Regions from separate parts of the Homo sapiens genome. Here all the other regions are linked to region 3. The links are contacts of gene promoters, found by promoter capture Hi-C in blood cells and fetal thymus (Javierre and others, 2016). All regions are on one chromosome and are shown on one strand. Each heading gives the region's core, a stretch centred on a gene start or on the middle of the fragment in contact. The rest is flanking DNA. Distances are from core to core; before and after follow the strand shown. Region 1 overlaps SUSD1 (sushi domain containing 1). Region 2 overlaps SUSD1 (sushi domain containing 1). Region 3 holds the start of PTGR1 (prostaglandin reductase 1).

What was found. Contacts are between HindIII fragments. The CHiCAGO score rates a contact against its expected background, and 5 or more counts as called.
Region 1: a fragment that was not itself captured here is called in contact with the fragment with the promoter of PTGR1 in region 3 in 3 of 17 cell types (activated CD4 T cells, total CD8 T cells and total CD4 T cells); the score reaches 5.8 in activated CD4 T cells.
Region 2: a fragment that was not itself captured here is called in contact with the fragment with the promoter of PTGR1 in region 3 in 13 of 17 cell types (naive CD4 T cells, total CD8 T cells, naive CD8 T cells and 10 more); the score reaches 19.4 in naive CD4 T cells.

What each region holds. Positions count from the first base shown.
Region 1 is chr9:112,096,061-112,099,755 of GRCh38, forward strand. It overlaps SUSD1 (sushi domain containing 1), which reads right to left. Exons shown (of 17, transcript NM_022486.5): 10 at 2,410-2,602. Among named protein-coding and RNA genes, the nearest start is that of LINC02977, 57 kb to the left of the region's middle. RefSeq lists enhancers at 1,673-2,592, 2,593-3,511 and a silencer at 1,832-1,951. The HindIII fragment of the contact is 2,979 bases long and covers 1-2,808 here.
Region 2 is chr9:112,072,814-112,076,278 of GRCh38, forward strand. All of the region lies in intron 12 of SUSD1 (sushi domain containing 1), which reads right to left. Among named protein-coding and RNA genes, the nearest start is that of LINC02977, 34 kb to the left of the region's middle. RefSeq lists an enhancer at 903-1,072. The HindIII fragment of the contact is 1,180 bases long and covers 761-1,940 here.
Region 3 is chr9:111,597,439-111,601,050 of GRCh38, forward strand. It overlaps PTGR1 (prostaglandin reductase 1), which reads right to left and starts at 2,209. Exons shown (of 10, transcript NM_001146108.2): 1 at 2,165-2,209. RefSeq lists an enhancer at 2,060-2,632. The HindIII fragment of the contact is 792 bases long and covers 1,923-2,714 here.

The sequences.
Region 1 (3,695 bases), core at 69-2,568, 500 kb after region 3:
AAGTTTAAATTGACACGTGGTAGACTCCAGACTGCTTGGTAACCTACAGAGGCTGAACTATGGCATGCTACATTATACTTACTACTAGTAATTTAGGGAGGCAAAGGAGAAGGTAACAACAGGCTTCTTTCTGAACCTGACACCATGGGCCTCTCATTTATTATACTCATGCTAGAGTTTAGACCTCATCTCTCACCACTGTCCCCAGCTCTCTGCTCCAGCCATACTGGTTTCCATGACATTCCTAGAATATGCCAAGTATGTGCCTGCCTCAAAACCTCAGCATTTGCCAGTCTCCTATACACCAAAGGAGTAGCATCTATTACAAAACAAGATTCCTAGGTTTCAACAGCTAGAACACACTCTCCACTCAGCAGGACACTCTGGCCAAGACTCAGCAGAAAAGATGTAGGATAGAAAAAACTGGGGACTTCATGCCTTTACATTTTAGTTTATTTTACAAGGAGAGGTGGATTTATTTATTCTTATTTCTTTATCTGAGGAGATCTTGCTCTATTGCCCAGGCTGAAGTGCAGTGGCGCAATCTCGGCTCCCTGCAGCCTCAACCTCCTAGACTCAAGAGATTCTCCCACCTCAGCCTCCCAAGTAGCTGGGACCACAGGCTTATGCCACCACACCCAGCTAATTTTTGTATTGTTTATAGAGACAGAGTTTCACTATGTTGCCCAGGCTGGTCTCAAACTCCTGAGCTCAAGCAATCCACCCGCCTTGGCCTCCCATAGTGCTGGAATTAGACGTGAGCTACTGCACCCAGCTAGATTTTATTTATAGATTTTTATTTCTCTAAGAATTTAATAATTGGAGGGAATTCATATTCAATTTGCGAGCATTACTATGCAGCTGAAAATGTGTTGGGGGGTAGGTTTATGATGTCATGAGGTGCTCCTTGTGCAAACTCTGCTGATACAGACAGGACAAGGTGCCAGGCTCAATCTGATAAAAAAAATAGGATAAAAACTGAAGCCAGACACGGTGGCTCACACTTGTAATCCCAGCACTTTGGGAGGCTGAATTGGAAGACCTCACTTGAGGTCAGGAGTTCGAGAACAGCCTGGCCAACATGGTGAAACCCTGTATCTACTAAAAATACAAAAATTAGCTGGGCATGGTGGTATGCGCCTGTAGTCCCAGCTACTCAAGAGGCTGAGGCAGGAGGATCACTTGAGCCCAGGAGGTGGAGGTTACAGTGAGCCAAGATGGCACCTGGCCCTCCAGCCTGGGTGACAGAGCGAGACTCCATCTCAAAAAAAAAAAATTAATTTTCAGCCTCAGGTGCTACGTGGCTCTCATGAGTGTCTAACACATTTCAGAGTCTTTTTTTTTTTTTTTTTTTTGAGATGGAGTTTGGCTCTTGTTGCCCAAGCTAGAGTGCAATGGCGCAATCTCGGCTCACTGCAACCTCTGCCTCCCGGGTTCAGTGATTCTCTTGCCTCAGCCTCCCGAGTAGCTGGGATTACAGGCACACACCACCATGCCCAGCTAATTTTTTGTATTTTTGGTAGAATCAGGGTTTCATCATGTTAGCCAGGCTAGTCTCGAACTCCTGACCTCAGGTGATCTGCCAGCCTCGGCCTCCCAAAGTGCTGGGATTACAGTCGTGAGCCACCGCACCCGGCCCAGAGTCTTCTAAATGCAAAGGCCAAACTGCCCACCCTGACCCACAAAGAGCAGAGGTGAATATCACAGAGCGGCTTCAGGGAGGTAGCAGCAGGACCTACCCTCTTCTGCTGCTTTCCTTCAAAGGGGTAGCCTCTTCTGGTTGCCCGTAAATTTGTCTGATAAACCCACAGGATTAAAGAACAAAAGAAATAGTAGTGATGGCTGCACCACAGCCATCCCACTAGGGGGAGCTGTGGAGTTAATACAGCTGGCACCTATGTGGCTTCCTCAAAAGACTGCAAGGGAAGAATTTCTAAGGAGCCTGACCTTAATCAGGCCTCTGTTCTCTATGTCAAGTTAATTTGCTTATGCGTGGCCTAGTCCTGAGGCTGTATTGCCTGCCAGTGCCTGACACTGTGGGACCCACGTTTCTGGTCTCCTGGAAGTTCGTTCTACTTGCCGATAATGAATACCCTTAGGGTTCAGTTGTCTTAAATTTGGGGTGAGAGATAAAATGCTTTATGGAATTCTCAACTTAGGACTCCCAGGGAGCTCTGAATAAATCAGTCTATCCTTGGTCTGTGCCCTCTATGAGCCAGTACCCTTCAGGGAAGGGGATAAGTGGTAAGATTCAGGCATCCTGAACCCCAGACGCAGCTAACAAAGTTTGTTAGAACTGGAACCCCTGTCTCTTGACTCCCAAACTAGCACTCTTATGCCCGCCCACACTGCTCAATTCACATAGGTAATTTGTCCTGAGGCACAAAAAAGAAAGACGTCTACACCCACCTGCTGGGGGAGTTGCTATTGTTATTTGCACTGAGTGCCGCTTAGGAGATCTCAGCAGGGTCACATTCACCGTATAATCAGTCGTAGGGTACAGATCCAAACACACTACAGGCACTTGTTCCCTCGTTGTGAAGTTAAACGATGTTGCATGAGAAAAGTTAGCCAGATACCACCTCTGACCCAGAACGGTAAACTGTCATGAGATTAAAAGAAAGTGTTACATTAGATTTTCCATTGACTAACAGGTGCCTAGACTATTAGCAAAATGGAGTTAAAACAAGAAAGTTCCTTTTATTTATCCTTGCCCACTTAGAATTACTTTTAAGACAATAGCAAGCTAACCTGAGGAAGGACTTGACAAAGCTACCTTACCTGTCCTCACAATCAGGTATAGGACCAAGCTTAATATGCATAACTACATCTCAGATGAAGAAAATATTAGTCTATTCCAAAATAATCCCTTGATTATAACGCAAGTGAAAGAGATTACATTGGAGCTAATGGGCAAAATTATTTTTTTTCCTCCTTCCCTTCTGAATACTTCGTTCTCTCTCTCTCTCTCTCTCTCTCTCTCTCTCTCTCTCTCTGTCTCTTTTCTGAGACAGGGTCTTGTTCTGTCACCCAGGCTGGAGTGCAGTGGCACAATCTTAGTTCACAGCAATCTCAAACTCCTGGACTGAAGTGATCCTCAGCCTCCCGAGTAGTTGGAACTACAGGCATGCACCACCACACCTGGGTAATTATTTTTACAATTAATTTGTAAAGACAGGATCTTACTTTGTTGCCCAGGCTGGTCTCAAACTCTTGGCCTCAAGCCCACCTCAGCCTCCCAAAGTGCTGGGATTACAAGTGTGAGCCATTGCACCCAACCAAAATTCTTTTAGTTTCTTTTCATTGTAAGAAATCCATGGACAAGCCTCATAGAACAGAGTACTTAAACTAGGTGGGTTCCTTAACCCTACCCATGGAAGAAAAAAAAAACAAAAACATATGGGGACCACCCCAGATTATGCATTCAAAGCAAATGCCATGGTACTTCACTGGACCCTTCCTATTAGACCTCTGGTAAAAGGGCTTTTGATCCATGGAGTCATATCACACACTGTCACCTAACCATCCTCTACGCACTGCCAGCTCCAGCAGGGAATTATAGGGAAAAAACTTTCGTGAAGGTCCTATAAGTAATATGATCAGCCCTTGATCAGTTAGGGTGCATTAGCTGGTGGAGACATATGCTCGGTGTTGCCACTGATGCTAGCACCATTGTCTATACCACCCTCAATCCC
Region 2 (3,465 bases), core at 101-2,600, 470 kb after region 3:
GCCTGTGTCCACGGAAGACTTGGAAAGGAAAACAGCTGGCATGAAGGCCAGTCCCTCTGCTGACCTGTGGTACAGCTTCAGCCCCCTTGGAGCCAGGGGGGCCCCCAGGGATAAGTGTGGTACCTTGGAACCAGCCAGGGGAGATGGGTTTCTCACTGAGGACACAGGGGTACAGCATCCTTGGATGGTTTGTGGGTAACCAACCATGAAAGAGAAGCCTCGGTAAAAGAAACCAAGAGACCTAGTCCTGCACAGTCTTCCCTGAGGACATCCCATTGTGGAGGGCGGTGTCAGAGGCAGGGGCAGGGAGGATCAGGGCAGTCCTGGCTGGACCTCTCTGATAAAGTGACAATCTGATAAATGCCTGGGACACTCCTGTGTTTTCTGTTGTTTTCCTAACCGTCTGAAAAAGTACTTTCCTTTTTCTTGTTATGAATACAATGAGAGATGGGAAATTTCTTGAAGAAGTTGCCAGCCTTGGTACTGAAGACATGGGAATAAATAATTTCCTTTTCATCTTTTCTTCCCTTTGCTCCTCCAGCATGCTTGGTTCCATAATAAACATTCCATCTCAAATGATCACCATGTTGTGTAAGACAAGTGGTCTGGTTTATCTCCACATTTACGTATGTATTGGCTTTCTCACGCTCACTCTCTCTCTCTCTCTTTCTCTCTCTTCCCCACCCCGCCCCCACCCACCCCCATCCTCCTCTCTCTGGTTTCCTCTTTCTCTCTCTATATAAGAAAATGTTGCCTACAAAGCTTTTAGACTTAGCAAGAAAATAGCATACTCAGCTGGACAGTGGCTCATGCCTGTAATCCCAGCACTTTGAGAGGCTAAGGGCAGGCAGATCACTTGAGGTCAGGAGTTTGAGACCAGCCTGGACAACATGGCAAAACCTCATCTCTACTAAAAATATATTTTTAAAATTAGACGGGGCTGGTGATGTGTGCCTGTAATTCCCGCTACTTGGGAGGTCGGGGCATGAGAATCGCTTGAACCTGGGAGGCAGAGGTTGCAGTGAGTCGAGATCACACCACTGCGTAAGCAACAGAGCAAGCCTGGGCAACAGAGCAAGACTGTCTCAAAAAAAGAAAGGGAAAGGGAAAGGAAGGGAAGGAGGCCAGTGCAGTGGCTCACACCTGTGATCCCAGCACTTTGGGAGGCCGAAGTGGGCGGATCACTTAAGGCCAGGAGTTCAAGATCAGCCTGGCCAACATGGTGAAACCCCATCTCTACTAAACATATAAAATTAGCCAAGCGTGGTGGCACACACCTGTAATCCCAGCTACTTGGGAGGCTGAGACATAAGAATCACTTGAACTCAGGAGGTGGAGGTTGCAGTGAGCTCAGATCACGCCACTGCACTCCAGCCTGGGTGACAGAGCGAAATTCTGTCTCAAAACAAAAAAAAAGAAAAAGAAAATAGCACACTCAACATGTGGATGCTCTTCTGACTCTTTGGGGCCTGCATCAAGGATGAAAGTTTGTTCCTCACCCTGTCCTAAAGGGGATGCGTGCCGTGGGGCTATCCTGAAGAATTCAGTTCAATGTGCCGTCTGCAGCCTATCAGCCAAGAGTCAGAAACACCGTGAGGCCACAGCTCCATCTCACCCACCCCCTCGCCAGCCCCTGCTTTCCTGCATTCACCGAAACACTTGCCTCTGTCCCTCAACATTCCTAGAACCTTCACTGTCCTCTGAGGTCAGCGATGTATTTAAAGCACTTGTTTTCATCCTGTTCCCATCAGTAAGATTTAACGTAAGACACTCAGAAGGGAAATTCCACTCTCTTTCCTTCTGGGAAATGAGCAGCTACATTGTCCAGACCCAAATCCTTAGCCTAACACATCTGCCAAAATTCAAAAGTTCATGATTTTACCGAAATAAGGCCACACACTTCTTAGGAAACCACGAGTATCTCTGCACATCAACACATAAGCTTCTCTTTTTTCCTCCTTTTATAAAAGAAAGGGGTTGGTTTTTTTTTTTTTTTAACTCTTTCATAAGATCAAAGCAACTTGATTTTTTTATGCTTCTTTAAAATTACGAGTCCTTTAAAGTGGGTAGAGTTGGAAAATAGGCATCTCAATGAACATTAAACAGCTCAACAATGTCCCCTGGTGGCCATGAGCACAGAGAGAGGGAACTTGAGCCACTAAAGCTCTATTCAGCCTACCAAACAAGGAGTAAGTGTCTCATCAAGATGAAACCCCCTCCCCTTTACTCAAAAAAATATGCAACGGTCCTTCAAACCAGAAAAGCACAGCATCCAAATATGAGAAAGACCACAGAGTAGGAAATGGAGATGGAGTCGCTATTCATTTTAATAAGTCACCACAGAAAGAAATGCCCAGACTGAACACCACTTGTCTCTCCAGCCCAAAATGTGGGGAATTCTTTCTGGTAGCCAGAATTCATTGCCTAACCAGACATCTCCTCAACACCAATACCACCCACTGGCTGTTATTTTAAAATTTTGGGCTGTTATGCTATCTATCAGTACCATTCTTACCCACTGAGGGTTGAATGTAAAACATACAGACAAAAATCACTGTCTTCAGGAAGCTCCTATTTTAGTGGGAGAGAAAGAAAATAAAAAAAAAATAAGTTTTTAGAAAACAAGCTCTAGGCTGGGCACAGAGACTCATGCCTATAATCTCAGCACTTTGGGAGGTGAGATGGGAGGATCACTTGAGGCCAGAAGTTCAAGACCAGCCTAGGCAACATAGGGAGACCCTCATCTCTACAAAAAATAAAAACAAAAAAATCCCTTTTGTAATTAGCCAGGCATGGTGGTGAGCGCCTATAGTCCCAGCTACTCAGCAGGCTGAGGCAGAAGGATTGCTACAGCCCAGGGGCTCAAGGCTGCAGTGAGTTATGATTGCACCACTGCACTCCAGCCTGGGTGACAGAGTGAGACCCTATCTCTAAAAACTAATAATTAATATTTTTTATTAATATGAAGCTCTATGAAGAAATTGAAGCAGGGTAAGTAGATACAGAGTACTAGCGTGGAGGCTGGTGATGGCAGTTGAGCAGGCACCTGAACAACTATGGAGAAGCCATATGTTGACAGTGTCCCAGGAAGTGTGAACTGCAGATGGAAAAGTCTGGAGGCTGGAAAAACTTTGACCCATTGAAGGAACTGCAAGAAGGCCAGGGAGACAGCTGATGCTTAATGGGAAAGGAGGAGAGCAGGGGGAGATGAATTAGAAGTAGGCAGGGGCCAGATGACATGTCCTATGATGAGGAACTTGGATTCCATTCTAACTTTAATGGAAACTCACTGGAGAGTTTTGAGCTGGTGCTGACATGTTCCCAAATGCATTTTTAAAAGATCACTCTGAGTGCTGAGTGATCTTTTGAAAGTTATGGTGAAGACTAAGACTAAGGTCCAGGGTGGGAGGTATATAGGCAAGAGAAAACCAGTTTGAAAACTACAGCAGGAATCCAAGCAAGAGG
Region 3 (3,612 bases), core at 959-3,458:
CACAGTAAATATGTAGTCAACTGCCATGAAGTGACTGCATTCTAACAGTTCTCTAGCCGTCAAACTGAGACCAGACAGCACAATTACAATATCCTCAAATCCCATCATTATCATATCATGCCAACCACATTCATTTAACATTTACTATGTTTCTGGTGCTGTGCTAAGCACTTCATATAGATTACCTCATTTTATCCTTATAACTTCCCTATAAGATAGACATTAGTATCATTGCCAGTGTACGGATGAGGAAACTGAGGTTTAAAGAAATCTTCAAGACAAGGAAAAAATATAAAACAACAAAGAAATTCTTCCCAGCCACTGCTAGGCTAGAGTTTCTCTACGGCACTGAACAGTTACCGGAAGTGCGAATATTCCATTCCGTTTCTCATCTCACATGGAGTGAATTCTAAGAAAAAGCATCAAACACAAAGAACCCAATAGATAGAAGTCCATGCACCTCTTTCAGATGGAAACAGCCACGCATTTCAAGGCAGTCTCAGAACTCCTGAAAACCACCGGAGGGCGCCGCTGCTCCGCCCCATTTTCAGGTGCGTTTTTTTTTTTTTTAAATACTTTTTTTTCTCTCTTTTCTTGTAGAGAGGAGCCTCACTGTGTTGCCTAGGCGATCCGCCCGCCTCGGTCTCCCAAAGTGCTGGGATTACAGGTGTGAACCACTTGCACTCAGCCATCGGGTGCGAATTTTCTTTGGCCCAGTAGGGATTTGAGTTTAAACTCCACACCAAACCGATTTTGAGCTGAAACGCTGCACCAAAGCAAGGGAAGATGATGAAGGCTGCCCCGAGCTGGGGGTTCAGGATGTTCTGCTTGGACTGAACTCTGCCGAATCACTTGGGACCTGCGCCTTCCCGCGGGTGCATCCGCTACAAACAATCCAGTTACGAAACCATTTGGAGCTGCCAGTGATCTCCCCAGCTCCCCTACCGGTGCCGCGGGAGGGGACACGGTGACCTGGAGGGAGCACTCCCGCATTGCGAGGGAGCCAGGGGGGCGGTCTGATCTGCAGCCCGGGGTTGTTCCTTCTTTTCTTTTTTTAAAATTAAGACTTTTTTTGTGACGGAGTCTCGCTCTGTCGCCCAGGCTGAAGTGCAATGGCGCGATCTCAGCTCACTGCAACCTCCGTCTCCCGGGTTCAAGCGGTTCTCCTGTCTCAGCCTCCTGAGTAGCTGGGATTACAGGCGCCCGCCACCACGCCCAGCTAATTTTTGTACTTTTAGTAGAGACGGGGTTTCCCCATGTTGGCCAGACTGGTCTAGAACTCCTGAGCTCAAATGATTCGCCCGCCTCGACCTTCCATAGTGCTGGGATTACAGGCGTGAGCCACCGCGCCAGGCCCTACGTATCATTTTTACGGTGAGACATTTGCAGTTTACTCTGTTATTTCGAAATACACATTATTGGCTCTAGTCACTCTGCTGTGCAACAGATCTCAGAACCTACTCCTCTCGTCTCTGAACTTCGTACCCTTTGGCCAACAAGCCCCCATTCCCCCCCGAACCCGCTCCCAGCCTCTGGCAACCATCATTCTAGTCGTTATTTCTATGAGTTCAACTTCTTTAGAGTTCACACATCTTTGTCCCTTTCCCCAAAAAAGCAACCGCTGGGCTTCCAAACTCGCTACAAGTCCAGAAGCCCTCCTGGAAAGGGTCTGGCCGCAGAGGGGCCAGGTCCCGGGAAAGTCTCGCCCGCCCGAGGAGGGGGCCTGGCGCGGCGCCCGGCCTTTGCCCGCTCGCCCTTTGCTCCCACCCTCGCCTCCCGCCGCCCGCCGCCCGCTTGCCCATTCCCGAATCCCCACCCCGATCTTTCTTCTTCTACCCTCCCCCAGTTGTGCAGTCCAGCAAGTTCCCTGGCCAGCCCCCTCCCGGGTGCAGGAAGCTACCGGGTGTCCCGGGTTGTAACCAAGCTTTCCTATTCCCTCCGGCGCGCGGCTCCAAGCTCTCCAAGGAACTGCGGGGGCGGGAGGCGTCGGGACGTCGGCTCCCAAGATCCTCCGAGTGCAAGACCCAGCGGTCATTTCGACGTAAGGGGAGGAGGTCTAAGAGCAAACCTCCTCCACTGGGGCGTCTAGAAACTTGGCAGGAAGAAAGCAAGGGGGTTAGAGGAGGGAGAAAAGGGAAGGAAAGAAAGCAGGAGGTCTACTTACAGGAGCCCGAAGGTTCCACTGCCTGGGGAAGGCGGCTGGGACTGCGCAGCCGGGCGCCCGGGGTCCGACTTATGACAGGTCCCAAGAGAGGGTGGGGCCACCCCAGGGCGGGGCTGCTTCTTTAGGGTGAGAGCCCGGCCCCGAAAGGGTCACAGGAGGAAAACCAGGGTCCGGGAAATCTGAGTGCGTTTGTGTGTGTGTGTGCGCGTATCTCTGTGTGCCTATGTGCATGTGCGCGCGCGTATGTGTGCATGTGTGCGTGTGTGTGCGTGCGCGCCCGCGCGCCCGTGTGTGTGCGTGTAGGGGGTTAGGGACTCCTGATAGGAAAATTCCTAACAGAGCTTTGTCCAGCTGACACTGGACCTCCGCCTGGGGTCCTAAGTTGGAGCCCGGCGGAAATATGCCCCGTGGGGGAACCAACCGTGGCATCTGCCAAGCAGGCCGGAAGGGTCCAAAGGCAGGGCCTGGGGCGGCCGCAGCCCTAATAAGCCCCCGGTGCTGGCTCCGATCCCTGGGCTCCCCGTCAGCCCTGCCGCTTGCCCGCAGTGCAAGCTTTCGCCCAGGGCTGCGGTGCAGACACCCTGCCTGTCTGTCCCCAGTCCGCCTGCTGAACACCTACTCGCCTTCCACCAGCCAATTCAAGGTCACCTCTGTGAACCCTTGCCAGACTCCCCCAGGCAGGAGTGAGCACTCTTGCCACTGAGGCACCCCACCCATCACACCCTAGCAAACATCAGGCCTTGACCTGGCTTCTGCAAGGAGAGGTGGTCTCAGGCAGGGGTTGAACGTGAAGCTAAGTCGTTGGTATTAGACGACTGCAGGTTCGAAGCCTGCACCTGCCACTTACTAGTGGTGTAGCTTTCAAAGACTTACTTACCTTCTCCTTGCCTCACTCAGTTCAGCCATCTGCAAGATGGGGATAAGAAGAATGCCTAACTTCCAGTCATTGTGAAGATTCAATGTCTTTAATTTATTTATTTAATTTTAATTATTTTGAGGTCTTGCTCTGTCACCCAGGCTGGAGTGCAATGGTGGGCATCATAGCTCATTGCAGCCTTGAACTCCTGGACTCAGGTGATCCTCCTTCAGCCTCCCTAGAAGCTGGGATTACAGGCCCACCACCACACCTGGCTCAATGTCTCTCCTTGTAAGGATACCCGCCATATTGGATTAGAGCCCCACTTGTCAGCCTCCGTTTAACTTAAACACGTCTTTGAAGGCCTTGTCTTCAAATACTGTCAAATGGATTAGGGCTCACTAATATGGCCTCATGTAACCTTAATTACCTCTTTAAAGGCCCTATCTACAAATACAGTTACATTCTGAGTACTGGGACTTGGGGATTTTAACACATGAAATTGGGGAAGACACAGTTCAGCCCATAACAGAGTGTGTGGACCAAGCGTGGTGGACGCATGCCACAGGATATACACAGCATCAGAAGCACT